Linked DNA regions of Homo sapiens: region 2 is linked to region 1. Evidence: promoter capture Hi-C in human tissues and cell types (Jung and others, 2019). All regions are on one chromosome and are shown on one strand. Each heading gives the region's core, a stretch centred on a gene start or on the middle of the fragment in contact. The rest is flanking DNA. Distances are from core to core; before and after follow the strand shown.

Region 1 (4,887 bases), core at 941-3,440:
GTCTGTAACGCAGGAAGATCCCAGCGGCTCCGGGTCTGGTGAGGGGACCATAAGCATGACTGATAGCGAATGAGGAAGGGCAGCCCTAAACTTTTCAAGCAAAGCCTCAGAGTTTTGGGTTCACTCATTAGCATAGGAAATCGATTCACCGAAAACCCAAACAAAGAAAAACAAGCCGACAGTCCAGGCAGGATGCAGGCAAATCCAGTTCGGGATTAAGGGTAAAAGGCTTTTTGGGTTTTTTTTCCTTTGGTTTGATTTTTTAAAATATGGGGAGGGGGGTGACATCTACCCGATTCTAGGCTCCGGCAGGAACGCAATGGGTTAATGAATGGACAAGCCGCGGAGTATTGATCGGCTGCCGCCGGAGGTAGGTCTTTTACTGACTCCAATCCGTAAACTAATTACTCCTTTTTCTGAAGTTTTAACTCTCCTCCTCCCACCCCGTACCCAGAGAAAAACAAACAAATAAAAAATATCGCAAGAAATGAAAACACACGAACAGATATTTCCCTCTAAGACAGTTTCCTGACCAGGTTCTTTTTTTTTTTTTTTAAAGAAAGAAAGAAAAACAAAAACCAGACCGAACCTGCCTTCCCGCTGTGGCTGCTCGGCGCCCCAATTAAGCAGGTCGCGGCGAGAGCGCCAAGCCCTGGAGCTTTCCTCCCGCACGGGTTCCCGCCCCTCCCCAGGCCTCCGAAAAGCAGGAAAGAAAAAACAAATCCCATACTTTTCTCCCGGGGCGCGAGGATCCTCTCGCCTCCAGAAGAGGGTGGAAGACTAAGAAGCCGCGGGTCTGGACTGAAGGGGCGCAAAGTGGGTGGTGAACAGGGTCGAACGCAGTCGAAAGCAAGCCTGGCGGCCGAGTCCTGTCCGCGCCCCTCGGAGCCAGGACGGTTGGGGGCATTGCCGAGGGTACCAGGAGCCTGGGGATCCCGCGGGCTCTGGGCTCCGCGGCGCCGGGCACGCACAGCCCAGCCTGCTCTGATTCGAGCGCACTGGGGGACAACTTCTCCGTTCGCACCCCTTCCCAAAGGGTCAAGCGGCCCGCAGGCCATCACTCCAAACCAGTCGTAGCTTCGGAGACTGGGGATCGACACCACGCCCGGCCCCGCGCCGCCTAGTTTCCCAACAGGGCGCGCTGGCCCGCGAGCCGGAGGAACCTCCGCCCAGGCCTTGCCAAGCGCCCACCCGGAGCAGGCCGGGGGCAGTGAAGGATGCGGCGGGAGCGGCGCGCTGCAGTTCCGCGACGTGGCACGTACCTTGGAAGCGATGACCCAGATATCGGTAGCGGTGGATGAGCCAGGGGTAGAAGGTGGACGGATCCCGCTGCTGCGAGGCGAATAGGGGGTGTGGCGAGTGCGAGGAGGGTAGGGGGTGGGCGGCCAGGGCGTGCGGCGGCGGCACCGGGTGCACTGGCACGGCGGGGTTGGGCGGGTGCGAGACCGCCTCGGCGAACACCAAGTCCGGGTTGGAGTAGACGCCCCTACCGGCGGCGGCGGCGGCGGCCGAGTGGAAGCCGTTGAGGAACGGATTTATGGGGCTGGAGTTAGCGTAGCTGAGTGCCGCGGGACGGATGGGGTCCTCGGAGCGCGAGGCGGGCAGGGGACTGTCCTTGGCCACCAGCGACTCGATGGTGAAGCAGCGCTTGGGCGCCGGCTGGAACATGCTGCGCCGAGGAGCGGGCGCCCTGGGCTCCCAGCTCCTGGCGACCGCCGCACGCTGCCTCCGCCGCCCGCTGCCCGCGGCGAGGACGGACGAGAATTGGGGACTCGTTTGTTTGGGGTGGGGGTGGGGGTGGGGGGAAGGAAAGGAAGAAAGAAAGGAAAGGAAAGGAAAAAGGAAAGGAGGGGGGAGGGAGAGGGAGAGGCAAAGCCGAGGATCCCGAGAATCTTGCACCAAACGCGCCCAACCTGAAGAGAGGGGGGAAAATCCTTCCAGAAGAATTTGCAGGCGTGGATTGGGGTAATTTTTTTTCTTTTTTTTTCTTTTTTTTTCTTTTTTTTTTTTTTTTTTTTTTTTGGCGAGATGGCGTGGGGGGATCGGAGTTAGAGGCAGGGAGGAGAAGGGGGGAAAGTTCTCGGGGGAGGCAAAAAAAAAAAAAAGTTTTTTCTCCTCTGCAAAAGGCGGGCAGGGCGCCCTAAGTCCAAGGACAATCCATGGAAGTGTTCGCTTCTTCACAAGTTGTGCAAACGATTTGTTAGTTCATGAGCCTAATTAGTGCGGGGATCACATAAACAGCTTCCTCCGAAGCCTGGTAAATGGCTTGATGATTGGTCGCTATTACTCGCCCTGAGGTGGAAGGGGGGAGACTCTTTAAAGTGCGTCAGAGGGAGGTGAGCGCCTGGGAACCCGGAGGCCTGGATCCGGGCCGAGAGTGGAACGGAGTCGGCGCCGCCGCCTCGGCTGAGCCTTCTGCCGCCCACCGGGCGGCCGGGCTTCTCCGCGCCTTCGCCCCTCGCTCCCAGCTCACTCGCTCCTGCGGCGCCCGCTGCGGCTTCTCCTCCTCCTTCGCCTCCTCCTCTTCCTCCAGTTTCTTCTTCTCCTCCTCCTCCTCTTCTTCCTCCTCCTCCTCTTCTTCCTCCTCCTCTTTCCCCACCTACTCCCCCTCAGCCACCGCCTCCTCCTCCACCAGCACCACTCCCTCCGGGGCACCCCGGTCCCTGCAGAGTCCCTGGCCGGCGCCGCCTCCGCTGCGGCCCCCTGAATCCCGAGCCTGCCTCGCCCAAGCTGGTAGGACAGAAGGACAGACAGATTCCTCTAGCCTAGCGCTCCGCCGCTGCTGCCTTACGCGGCCCCGCGTCGGGAGAACTGGGATCGCCCCAAGAGCACCGCGAGGGTAAGCGGGCAGGGGCTGGTTCCCGGGCTAAAGGCGCCGTTCGGTTATACCAATCCCCACACTTAGCAAAACTCCCAGCGGTTTCCTAGGCCAGGAGGGATCCTGGAGTGAGGGGTACGGGGTCCTCCCACCCCATCAACCACGCTTAGCCTCGAGGTCCCAGGGTCGGTGCGTTCGCGATTCTTGACCCGGCTCGTTCGTTTGCGAGTTGAGACCGGGAGCTGCCGACCCCGCCGGAGCAGTGGGCTTCCAACTCTCTCCCTCTCTCGCCCCACGGTCTCTAGCGTTTTCTGTCTGGGAGGGTGCTCACCTCCTTCCCCAAAACAATTCCTTCTGGAATATCTGGGACCGGCAGTCCAAGGTCAGGGGAGAGCCCGATATGGTGCTACTGTACTATTAAGGTTCCGTCGTAATTATTTTTGTCAGTGTGGTCAATGTTATTATTATTATAGATGATATTATTTTATTATTATTATTTCTATTATTATTATTATGCCATCTGTTGTCCCGGGGTTGGTGGGGGGGTGGTGGTTGCTGTGCAAACCCAGTGCAACTAACGACTACGGATCGCATCTCCGGTCCCGGGCCGTGTCCGCATTTTCGAGCTCGCCTTCGGTTTTGGGATGATTTTAGGACCGAGTTCCCTCGTCCCCATTGGCTCGCGCGGCGGCATAATTATGATCACATCCCCAGGCTGCTGGCGCTGCTCTCTGTTTATTGGTGGTTAAAGATCTATTATCTATTCATCAGCCGCCTCTTTTTTCCTTTTTTTCCTTTTGCCAATTACATTCTTCTAAAGTGAAGTACCAGCAGGTATTTTGCACGTTTACAATTAATGATAAAAAAAAATTCTAGCGTCGTTTAAAACTATTACTCCCAGGCCCCTGTCATTTCTCCTAAGAACGCAGAATTGCCTGTGTTTGGTGACTAGGTTGCCGTGAAACCTGGGAAGCCGATGGCAATGGGAGGAGAAGAGTGAAGTCCACCGTGAGCCAGGCTGCACTGCCACCAGATGCATAGTTGAGGGGACAGGTCTCAGGACGAGCTACCTGCTTCCTCCCTTGGTTTCATCTGGTGTATATTTATGTTTGTGTCAATTACTCCTTTATTCCAGATATAATGTTGTGTTGGGGCAAGTGTCCAAAAACCTCTTTTGGGAAACCAGGCAAGAGAGGAGTTGGGAGCAGTGTTTTCCGGGGTTGTCAGGGCACCAGACAGATTCGTGAGGAACTGGCAGAGATCATCTTTGTTGCCCCCACCCCACACCTTCCCAGGGAACACACATACACATCTTCACAGATGAGACAGGTGTGCGCCTCAGCTTTGCCCTCACAGTGGGAGACACCTGCCTTTCCCTTAGGCTTCGAAGTTCTGGGCTGGGGTCCTAGCCCAGTATTGTCCCTCTGTCAGTTCCAGGTGGCTTTGCTTTCTCCTCCTCCCCTTTTTCCAGGCCCAAAGATTCTGGGCTTTGGATCCAGCCCTTGGGGTAGGGGTGCACTTAAAGATGCACCTCCCTTGGGCCTGGACCACTGTCCCCCAAAATATTGTCTACAGTTTGGAAATCCCTCTCTCAATTAGGCTGTGAGGTTACAGGCCTCTCCTCTAACCCCAGCTAGGCCAGCAGGGAGCCTGAAGACATGGCAGAGGGGGGAGGTCTTTTGGCTGTGCCCAGCCAGTAAGCTTAGGGTGGAGCTAGAGGTCCGCCCTCAGGTTTTTGAGGCTGGAAACAAACACTCAGCTTAGGCAGACTGTGCATCCTGAATCCTGGCAAGCAGGAGAGTGCACCTTTCATGCAAACTTCAGAAGGAGGACTGGAGGGCCAGATTCTGGCAGTGCCCTCAGGCCAGACCCTCCAAACTCAGCCTGAGACTCAGAGGTTGCAAACTGGAGCCACTGAAACTCCACCCTTAGTGATCTTGGATGGGGGCATAAAAGTCATTGACCTTTAGGGCAACAGGTATCCAGTCTGTCTGGGAGATTGGGTGAGACCCAGATGGTTTGTGATGTATAAGGGTGATGGGTGCCTTCCCTCTTTTAAAACTTGCAGC
Region 2 (4,887 bases), core at 896-3,395, 1.2 Mb before region 1:
AAGATTATAATGGAGCTGAAAAATTCCTGTCATCTAGTGATGTCTTAATGATCCTGACCCTGTGTAGGCCCAGCTAATGTGTGTTTGTGTCTTAGTTTTTAACAAAAAAGTTTAAAAAGTAAAAAATTAATTTTAAAATAGAAAAAAGTTTTCTTATAGGATATAAGGAAAGAAAATATTTTTGTATAGCTGGACAACGTGTGTTTTAAGCTAAGTGTTATTACAAAAGAGTCAAAAAGTTAAAAAATTAAAAAGCTTAGAAAGTAGAAAAGTTAAAGTAAGCTAAGGTTAACTTATTGGAGAAAGAAATGTTTAAAAATAAATTTAGTGTTAAGTGTACTGTGTTTGTAAAGTCTACAGTAGTGCACAGCAGTGTCCTAGGCCTTCACAGTCACTCACCACTCACTCACTGACTCACCCAGAGCAACTTCCAGCCCTGTAAGCTCCATTCGTGGTAAGTGCCCTATGCAAGTATACCATTTTTATCTTTTATACCATATTTTTTGGCTGTACCTTTTCAATGTTTAGGTATGTTTAGATCCACAACATGTTCCAGTTGCCTACAGTACTCAGTACAGTCACGTGCTGTACAGGTTTGTTGCCTGGGAGCAACAGGCTATGCCATATAACCTAGGTGTGTAGTAGGCTGTGCTGTTGAGGTTTGTATACTCTATGATGTTCCCACAACAACAAAATTGCCTAACAACCCCTTTCTCAGAATGCATTACCATCATTAAGTAACACATGACTGTGTTATTAGGCATGGTGCTCTTTTCCACATGGAAAAGCTGTATAATGCTGTGGCCATCCTCACCCTCAGGCTCCTCAGCACTGGTTTTAAGGGGAGTTCTAGTCTAGAGGAAAGGCAGCCCAGGCCGGATGAAAAAGCCCCTGGTATGGGCCAGGCACCCAGTCGCTTTACAACAGCTATCAGATGCCTTCCCTGACTTAGAATTATACAACCACGTCAATGACCTTCCCATTTTCAAACCTTGAGGATGATGCTTAAACTCTCACCTCGGAGATACTGAATCTCTGATGACTGCACAGGAAGGCCTCTGTTTCCTTACAAAACATGCCTCTCAAAATGTTGGGACAACTGAACGGTTCTCATAAAGCTAAAAATATTATAAAATCCTCAATTACAATTGTCCTTTCCAACAGTCCTTGATAGTACTTTGTTGCCTTTTGAACTTAATTTTGTTCTTTACGTTGCAATTAAACACGTGAATGACTGGCTGAAGTCCCATGAATGATGGATAGAGATTAGAATGCCTGCTTGCCTCCTCCTAATGGTTTCTATCTGTGTCTAAATTGGATTAACTTTATAGCTTTTTTTCTTAATCACTGGTATCAGATCATCCAGTTTTCCATTTTCTACTCATTTTTATGAAGTAATGAGGCAAAACATGCAATTTTTATAAACATATAATATTGACCAGATACGTAAAGGATTGCTGCCAAAACTGACCTGTGGACTAGCAGCAGGCACCCCCGTGCCAAAGCTGATGTTTGGGTTTAGAGTATGAAAGGCAATTTGAGGTATGATGTATGAAAGAGCTGACTGTGTGTGAAACAAGTGAAGTGGAGACTCATTTGTATCTGCTGCCTCTTAAATATGACAAGATAGATACCAACTCCTCCTGGATGATTACTGTGGCCTTCAAAAGGCACCCTGGCCTCTACCCAGGGTTAATCCATTGAGAGTGTTGGTGCCAAGATCGAATAACCAGGTGTCTTGTTGCTCACAGCTGCCAACATCAGATCTGCCTATGGCACCTGGCAGTGATGGCTGACAGTGGAGATCCAGTCCTACATTTCAGTGCCAGGAAGGGCCTCCCTTGCAGGCCACAGCTAAACTGTGTTAGGCCCAGGTACCCTCTTCCTCTAAGACTCCATTGGGATTGGACACCCTGGACCACTCGATGTTGTTTCATCACCCAAAGTACAAGCAATGACTTTTAATACACCTCTGAGTTTTTTTTTTTTTTTTTTTTTTTCCTGAGATGAACTTTCCCTCTTGTTGCCCAGCCTGGAGTGCAATGGCGCAATCTCGGCTCATTGCAACCTCTGCCTCCCGGGTTCAAGCGATTCTCCTGCCTCAGCTTCCCGAGTAGCTGGGATTACAGGCGTGCGCCACCACACCCAGCTAATTTTTGTATGTTTGGTAGAGACAGGGTTTCACCATGTTGGTCAGGCTGGTCTTGAACTCCTGACCTCAGGTGATCCACCTGCCTCGGCCTCGCAAAGTGCTGGAATTACAGGCATGAGCCACTGCGCCCGGCAGCACATTCTTTGATGTATTTTTTGCTTGAAATATTCCCTGCAGGTTCTTGCCTTAACCTGAGCTATTCTCTGAGCACTGCGTCCCTTGTGACCTCTGAAGGGCACACTGTTTTCTCATGTCCCATATTCCTCTGATAGGGAGGTGGTGTTGGTGTCTTCCTTGTTCCCACACTGCTTCCATTTCAATCCTTCCCTTCCCTTTCCGCTGAGGCTCCCACCATTGAAGTTTTCCACCTCACCTGCTCATAGAAGCAATCTCCTGGTCATTATCAACCCCGCCCTCTCTCTCTCTCTTTTTTTTTTTTTCAGATAGAGTCTCACTCCGTCTCCTGGGCTAGAGTGCAGTGGTGCGATCTCAGCCCACTGCAACCTCTGCCTCCAGGATTCAAACAATTCTCCTGCCTCAGCCTCACGAGTAGCTGGGATTACAGGCGCGTGCCATCACACCCAGCTAGTTTTTGTATTTTTTGGTAGGCATGGGGTTTCGCCATGTTGGCCAGGCTGGTCTTGAACTCCTGATCTCAAGTAATCTGCTCACCTTGGCCTCCCAAAGTGCGGGATTACAGGCATGAGCCACCGCGCCCGGCCAACCTCCTCTTTTTTGTTCCTGGATGGCCTTAATCTCCATGCCAGCTCCTGTCATCATTCATTGTCTTGAGGGAAACATTAACATCCCCACGGATGGCCCTTCCAGTCCTCTGGCCTCTTACCTCCCTGGCCTCCTCACCAGGCCTAATTCTAACATTTGCAGCAAGAGTGCAAAATGACTCATTTGTATGTCTAAATATTTAAATGTTATACATACAGCTAACTGCTAAGTAACACACTTCCTATCCTCCTTCCTTGACAAACATACCTTCAGATGATAACAAAATAAAAAATGTATGTAAAGCTATGGTAAAATAACAAGGATGACTGAATGGAACTATTATTGTGTATGTCTGGGTGTTCTTTTGATGGACTGGCAACATGTGGATGAGTAATAAAAAAATACATAATTCATAAATTATATGTATTTTATGAAAGTTAATTTTCTTGCCTTCTTTTAAGTAAATTACCAATTATGTTGTTATAATCAAGACTTTTACATAATTTGTGTTCTATTGAGAGTAATGACAAATTAGGCAACCTTTCTGGGGACATTATGGTTCTTAGGGTGTTTTTCATTAATTTGAAAATGCAGAAACTATGTTCTGCTGAGGTCAGAGCAACTGGAATTATCAATTAAGTTCTTAAAGCCATACTTAGATGGGAAATGAACTATAAATTTAATATATCATGCTCAAACATTTTAATGGGGTTAGGCTGTATATAATCAATCACTGTCACAGAAAATAGTAAAAATATTTTAATTTCATTATATAAATTTCTTTTTTTTTTTTTTTTTTTTGAGACGAAGTCTCGCTCTGTTGCCCAGGCTGGAGTGCAGTGGCGCAATCTCGGCTCACTGCAAGCTCCGCCTCCCAGGTTCACGCCATTCTCCTGCCTCAGCCTCCTGAGTAGCTGGGACTACAGGTGCCTGCCACCACGCCTGGCTAATTTTTTGTATTTTTAGTAGAGATGGGGTTTCACCATGTTAGCCAGGATGGTCTCGATCTCCTGACCTTGTGATCCGCCTGCCTTGGCCTCCCAAAGTGCTGGGATTACAGACGTGAGCCACCGCGCCAGGCCTCGTTATACGAATTTCTACCAGTAATATGAGTTTCACTATCTCTAAGCAACATCAAGATCAATACAGTACTTTTAAGTATTTTCCTTTCAAATTCTTTAATGCTGGGATGTAATAAGAAAATTGACAACAGAAGCATGTTATTCAATTTATTAAAATCTTTTTCCAGATTGTATCCTGATCTAAAATGGCCAAAAATAATCTCCAAAGAAATTAAAGGAAATTTTTGGAAAATCATACATTAATTTTCTTCATGGTCATACAAACATGTTTGTTTCCTTTTAAATTTTCTTTAAAAATTAAAAAAATTAATCATTCAAAAAGTAAAATAGACAAACTTAACTCTAGTTTTCTCTAGTAAGTGACAGTTCACACCAAGTAACTGTGGATAGTGCAAATACGAAAGTAATTTCATTTTCCACTAAAGACCACCATTCACTCATATTTGAACATCATTTATTGTTTCACTGAACTCTTCCAGTACGTCTCATCTATCTTGTCTAAATTAAATTGCTTTAACGCAGCGAGTAGCTCCAGGACCCTGCATGAGAACACAAAAATGGTCACTTGGTGCAACTGGGAAATGATACTTTGCTGTGCAAGAATCTATTGCATCAATGCCAACTGGAAAGGATTTGAGAAGTTAGTTTTCTCTCTCAGTTAAGTGCTTCTGTTGTTCAGATCCTCTCTGCACTCTGAAGCAGTTTCTCTCATTTGTATGACACCACCCAGAAACCTTCATGGCCTCCAGATGTGGTTGCTTTCTGATCTGAGGACCAAGAGTGCAGAGAAGCACTTAATGGGAGTTGCGTGTTGTGAGGCACGAGAGTGAATGTGTAGGGTGTGGTTACGCTGCGCCAGCTCTGAGCACAGAATACCAATGCCTGTATACCCTTGGTAAATTTACTGTGTGTAGCATACAAAGGGCATAT

What was found. Contacts are between HindIII fragments. The study calls those that stand out against the background at their distance.
Region 2: a fragment that was not itself captured here is called in contact with the fragment with the promoter of EMX2 in region 1 in 1 of the 25 tissues and cell types used here (dorsolateral prefrontal cortex).

Annotation. Positions count from the first base shown.
Region 1 is chr10:117,540,049-117,544,935 of GRCh38, reverse strand. EMX2 (empty spiracles homeobox 2) reads right to left here and starts at 2,190. Exons shown (of 3, transcript NM_004098.4): 1 at 1,263-2,190. The coding sequence starts at 1,668. It also overlaps EMX2OS. RefSeq lists enhancers at 1-352, 353-975. The HindIII fragment of the contact is 12,526 bases long and covers 1-4,887 here.
Region 2 is chr10:118,764,252-118,769,138 of GRCh38, reverse strand. No RefSeq gene overlaps it. Among named protein-coding and RNA genes, the nearest start is that of CACUL1, 12 kb to the right of the region's middle. The HindIII fragment of the contact is 5,691 bases long and covers 1-4,887 here.